2 separate regions of the Homo sapiens genome follow, and region 1 is linked to region 2. The links are contacts of gene promoters, found by promoter capture Hi-C in human tissues and cell types (Jung and others, 2019). All regions are on one chromosome and are shown on one strand. The core of a region is centred on a gene start or on the middle of the fragment in contact, and the rest is flanking DNA. Distances in the headings are between cores, read along the strand shown. Region 1 has its middle 570 kb from the start of MIR4465. Region 2 holds the start of TXLNB (taxilin beta).

Region 1 (3,247 bases), core at 522-3,021, 2.0 Mb after region 2:
GTACATAAAGGAAGTTACGGTAATGGTATCTCATTAAATAAAGAATATCAATAAAGAGATAGACAGTATAAAAAGAACCAAATGGATATTCTGGAGTTAAAGTGTAAAATAACTAAAATGAAAAATTTACTAGAAGGCCTTAATAGTAGACATAAACTGGCAGAAGACTTAGTGAACTTGAATATTGACCAATGGAAATTATGCAATCAGAAAACCAGAGAAATTAGTGAAAAAAATTTAACAGAGCTTCAGAGACATGTTGGTCACCTTTAAGTGCATTAATATACATATAGTAGGAGAATCAGTGTGGGTAGAGAGAAATAAAGAATCAGAAAAAGAAATTAAAATAAATAATTGCTGGAATGTCTCAAATTTTTTGAAAAATATTAATCTATGCATTTAAAAATCTCAAAGAACTTCAAGTAGACTGAAGACAGTAACTCATAGTAAAGGAACACATGAAGAGAATCAGAAATGATATATAAGAAAATTAAAATAATGAAATCTATAAATATGTATTATACTTACTTATTTCTTCTTTGAATGACAAAATCATGTAAAGTAATAATTATAACTGTATTGTTGAATGCATAATATTCATAGATATAATTTGTAGAACAATAATACCCAAAGTGAATAGAGCTATATGGGGGAAAAATTTACATATTTCACTGAAATTAAGTGAATGTGAATATAAAGATGTAGCTGAAAAGATATAGGGGGCAAGTCCTAGGTCAACCATTAAGGTAAACACTGAAAGAGTAAATAATTAAAATTATTAAAGTGTTACATTATAAAATATTCACTTAAAGCAAAAAAAGATATTAAAGGAGGATAGAGGAACAAAAATGACATGCCACATATAGAGAACAAAAGGTAAAATGGCAGATGTAAATCCAATTATATCCACAGTAATATTAAATTGGAATACATTAAACAATCCAATGAAAAGGCAAATTGCCAGACAGGATTAAAGCAAAACAACACAAAATAAGCATCAATCATATTCTGTCTACAAGGGACATATTTCTGATTCAAAGATGCAATAGTGTGAAAGTGAAAGCTGGAAAAGATATTTCATGCAAACTGCCATCACAAGAAAGATATAGTGGCTCTACTGACATCAGATAAAAAGCCTTAAAAACGAATTTTAAAAAGTTTCTAGAGAGATAAAGAGGAATATTTTATAATAATAAAAACATCTACCACAAGGATATAACAATTGTAAACATATATGCAATTAAAAACAGAGTGCCAAAATACATGAAACAAAAAAAAAGCAGTAAAGACACAGTTTGACAGCAATAATTGGAAAGTTCAATACCTCAATTTCAATAATGGATAAAAAATCTAGTAAAGATTAACAAGAAAATAAATGACTTGAACAACATTATAAACCAGCTGGTCATCTTTAGAACACCATAAATGTCTGTGAAACCTGCCACCTAAGAGCAACAGAACACAAGTTTTTCTACAGTAAAGTTGAAAACTCACAAGGTAGACCATGTGCTTGGCCCAAAATAAACTTCAATAGATTTTAAAAACTACAAATGATGTGAAGTGTCTTCTCTAACCACAGCTGAATAAAATTAGATATCAATTAGAGAAAGAAATTTGGAAAACTCACAAACATGTGAAAATAAAACCACATATTCCTAAATAATCAATGAGTCGAAGATGAAACCAAAAGGAAATTTTGAAATTACTATCAGATTAATGAAAATAAAGGAACAACATGTTCAAACATATAGTATGTAACTAAAGCAGTGATTACAGGGAGATTAATAACTGTATATACCTTTATTTAGAAAGAATAAAGATCTGAAATCAATTTTCCACTTGCATGATGAGGACACTGGGGAAAAAAGAGAAAACTATGTAAAGCAAGCAGAAAGCATAATAGAATAAAAGTTAGAGAGGGAATTAATGAAATAAATAATAGAAAAACAATAGAGAAAATCAATTGCATTGAAAACTGAGTTTTAGAAAAAGATTAACAAATCGACAAACCTTATCCAGGTAGATCAATTAAGAAGAGAAAATTCTCAAGTTACTAGAATTAGAAATGAGGAAGGCAACATTATAACCAACTTCAAGGAAATTAAAAAATGTTGTAAAAGAGTACTATGAATATTTGAATGCCAACTAATTACACAACTTTGTTAAAATGGAAAAATTCCCAGAAAGATGCAAACTACCAAAAATGATTTCAGATTAAAAATACAAGTTGGGCCGGATGCAGTGGCTCACATCTGCAATACCAGCACTTTGGAAGGCCAAGGCGGGCAAATGACCTGAGACCAGGAGTTCAAGACCAGCCTAGCCAACATGGTAAAACCCCGTCTCTACTAAAAATTCAAAAATTAGCCGGGCATGGTGGGACATGTCTGTTGTCCCAGCTACTCTGGAGACTGAAGCAGGAGAATCGCTTGAACCCAGGAAGTGGAGGTTGCAGTGAGCTGAGATAGCACCACTGCACTCCAGCCTGGTTGACAGAGCAAGACTCTGTCTCAAAAACAAAACAAAACAAAATAAAACAAAACAAAAATAATTTGTGTGGGCCTATGACAAATAAATAAGTTGAATTAGTAATCTGAATCTATCCACACAAGAATATGCCAGCCTCAGATGACTTCACTGGTGAATTCTACCAAAAGTTTAAAGAATTAAAAATTCTTTTCAAACTCTTCCAAAATTACAAGAGGGGAGTACCACCTTATTTTGTAAGGCCAGTAATACCCTGACCCCGATACTAAAACCAAACAAAGGCATCGCAAGAAAATTACAGACTGTTAAGTATGAAAACAGATGCAAAAATCCTGGACAGCATACAAGCAAACTGAATCCAACCACATATAAAAAGTGTTATGCAACATTATAAATAAATGAATTTATTCCAGAAATTTAAAGTTGTTTTACTTATTCCAAAGCAAATTAATGTAATGTACAATATCAATGGTATTAAAAAGAAAAACCACATGATCATCTAAATGGATAGACGATAAGCATTTGAAAAAAATCCAAAACCATTTCTTAATAGAAACACTCAACAAACTAAAATCAGAAGGAACGTTATTCTGATTAATTAGACCTACGATAACCCATAGATAACATCATCCTTAATGGTGAAAGACTGTATGCTTTCCTGAGATCCTTCAGATCCCTAAGATTAGGAACAAGACAACAATGTTATTTTTACCACTGCTATTCAACACTGTACTGGTTCTAGCCAGGATAATTAGGACAG
Region 2 (3,109 bases), core at 40-2,539:
AGTTATGGTGCATTTTATTTGTAAATAATATTTAACAGTGATGCTGCTAAATAGCAGCATAAAAATGTGGCAAGATCCTCATAATTCACAGGTTTTGCTGTTGTGGTAACATGAAAGTGAAAACAAAAGCATACTGTTCTACAACTGCACAGCTTCCTTTTCCTGTTCTCAGGGCAGTAGATGTCAATTGAATGCTCAGACACCAACAAGAACAGAAAATTCAACACACAGATGTTGCCACTGACTTGTGATGCTCACCAAACACTCATAACTTAGAGGAAGTACTTTTTTTCTTTCACTGGTTTGAATTCACCAACTTGATTATCAAATAATGCAGCAGTTTCATTATTTTCATCACTGGGATTTCTTTTCCTGACCTCACTTGTTGATTGCACTCATCTATATATAACTTAGGCCTCCCCTGAACACGGAGAAAGACACACGGCACCTGCTGTCCAGCCAGAAGTTATTTTAAGCTATTCTAAAATGAGTCATGCCGTTTAGCACTTCATCCTTGAAAATCAAGAGAATCGTTTTTCAGTCAAATTGAAAACAGTAAACATTTAGTGGCTTAAATCCATACATGGGTTTTAAAGTCGGGGAGACTATCTTAGGATGAAATAAAATCTCAAGTAAAATGAACTTCAAAATAATTAATTTAAGATAAGCTGTCCATAGGAGTTTTACTTCGGTTAGTCTAAATGCAAGTGGCTGTTTGTATTTGATTTATTCTTCATGAGATGCCACAATCATTGATTTTTTAAATTCTTAATTCCATGGCTATTCTTTAAACTCCTGTTCCACATTTACTTTAAAACAGAACAGTCATTATAAAGCCCAGGACAATTCAATTCCCAAAAGTAGCCTCAAGACAAGTTAACAAGAGGGAAAAAAACAAAGTCAGAGAACTTTGTTACTTTTCAATCATCCATTTTATATTATGTGGCAAAGAAATTATTTCTAACTTTTATCTTATATAAACTTTATTGCCTTATTTTCCCCTCCCCAGGGAGAGAACTTTTCACTTGTGTTGGCTATTCCAGATGACTATCACAGACACATCCCTCCCTAAGCAACACATTTTATTTATAAATACAACAATGAAAAGTTCTCCAACAGTTCACTGGCAATCTCAAAGTTGCAAGTTTCGAACACCACAAACCGCACCCTATACCTTCTCACAGGGCTTGGGGGAGTGTTTGTCATACTTACCAGAAGGCAAGAAGCTAAGCAAGAAGAGAGAGGAGAGGAAGGAGGCAGGAAAAAGCAAGTCAGAGCTGCAGCAACAGCAGGAGAGGGCGGGCTGGCTGTGTTCTTACAAGGGAGAGAGAAACCCAATACACACACACACACATACACACGTGCACGCACGCGCGCGCACACACACACACACACACACACGCCACAGGCACTGATGGAGGCAGCAGTCTGGAGGAGGTGGGGGTAGGGAAAGGAACATCATATGACACAGCAAGGGGAAAATACACCCAAGCTTCCCTAGCTGTTGCCAGGGGAAATACCTTAGCAGAGAGAAGCAGCTGGAAGATCTCATTAGACTCTCCATGTTTTGTTTGTCCTTTCGGAAATTTAAACTCTGAGTATATTACCCCCGTTGCAAATGCAGTCTTTCACCATTGTTGTCCTTTTTGGGTAGAGATCAGTTTTTCTTACTTCTTGGGTTATCTCCAGTGTGGTGGAAGATTCATCTTCTTTTTCTTCTTCTTCTTGCACTAGCTTAATTAGTGTCAGGTTTCTTACAGGAATCATGGAAAAAGAAAAACAATGGCATAAGAACAGGGAGGTGGTGGAACCATTTTAATTCTGATGTCATTGTTTGGTTTGTTTGCAAAGTTTGAAATAAACATGTAGATGGTGATTTTGGAGCTGAACTGAGTATAATCTTCATGCACGTGGTAATTGGTGTGACCTTGGAGCACAGTCTTTCCCAGGTAACTCTTCCCATCTCAAACAAACCCTCAGGGAAGCAGTCTGCTTTTTCTTCCTTAGTTGGTGGCTTTCCCACATTTTGTAAATCCTCAACATGCTCCTTGATCCTCCTCAGAAAAAGAAATTCCTTCTGATTCACCATAAAATGCCTGTCTATTAATTTACATCCATTTGCCTTTTATTTTTCTTTCTGGAGCTTGTGTTCCCATACTTCCAAAGCAGATTCCTCCATCGGTTTCTGCTCTGGGGACAGGCTAGGCATAGTGGCATCCCTTGTGGGAGGCAGAATAATGCCACCCAAAAGATCTCCACGTCCTACTCCCTGGAACCTGTGAATATGTTTCTTTACATGACAAAAGAGACTTTGCAGATGTGAGGAAGGATCCTGAGGTAGGGAGGTTATCTTGAACTACTGGGTGGGTTCAATGTAATCATAAGGGTATTTATTTATTTATTTATTGAGACAGAGTCTCGCTCTGTCACTCAGGCTGGAGTGCAGTGGTGCAATCTCAGCTCACTGCAACCTCCCGGGTTCAAGCGATTCTCCTCCCTCAGCCTCCCAAGTAGCTGGGATTACAGGCGCCTGCCACCACATCCAGCTAATTTTTGTATTTTTAGTAGAGACGGGGTTTCGCTGTGTTGGCTAGGCTGGTCTCGAACTCCTGACCTCATGATCCGCCCACCTCGGCCTCCCAAAGTGCTGGGATTATAAGCGTGAGCCATTGCACTCAGCCTCATAAGGGTCTTTATAAATGAGGGAGGAAGGCAGTAGGATTGGAGGCAGAAAAGGAGATTTGATGACCTCAGCATAGGTCAGGAAGCTTCTAGAAGCTGGGAAAGGCAAGGAAACAGATTATACTCTAGAGCCTCCAGAGGGATGCAATCCTGCGACATTGATCTTAGATCAAAGAAATTCGTTTTGGATTTCCGACCTCCAGAAATATAAAATAGCAAACTTATGTTATTTTTAAGCTGCTAAATTTGTGATAAGATGTTATGGCAACAAAAGGAAATGAAAACATCCCACCCCCAGTTTTGTCCTACTTATTCTCTGAGTTTAGGGGAGGCATAAGTTATATATAGATGAGTGCACCCAACAAGCAGAAGTCAGGATAAAGAAATTCCAGTGTTGAAGACAATGAAGCTGTTCACTATATTATTT

Evidence for each region. The method cuts DNA at HindIII sites, captures the fragments that hold promoters and counts their contacts. A contact is called where the count stands out against the background at its distance.
Region 1: a fragment that was not itself captured here is called in contact with the fragment with the promoter of TXLNB in region 2 in 1 of the 25 tissues and cell types used here (H1 embryonic stem cells).

Annotation. Positions count from the first base shown.
Region 1 is chr6:141,256,475-141,259,721 of GRCh38, forward strand. No RefSeq gene overlaps it. Among named protein-coding and RNA genes, the nearest start is that of MIR4465, 570 kb to the left of the region's middle. The HindIII fragment of the contact is 9,295 bases long and covers 1-3,247 here.
Region 2 is chr6:139,290,709-139,293,817 of GRCh38, forward strand. It overlaps TXLNB (taxilin beta), which reads right to left and starts at 1,290. Exons shown (of 10, transcript NM_153235.4): 1 at 1,213-1,290. All of the region lies in intron 4 of LOC102723690 (a long non-coding RNA gene), which reads left to right. RefSeq lists enhancers at 5-64, 265-514 and a silencer at 124-418. The HindIII fragment of the contact is 6,084 bases long and covers 1-2,130 here.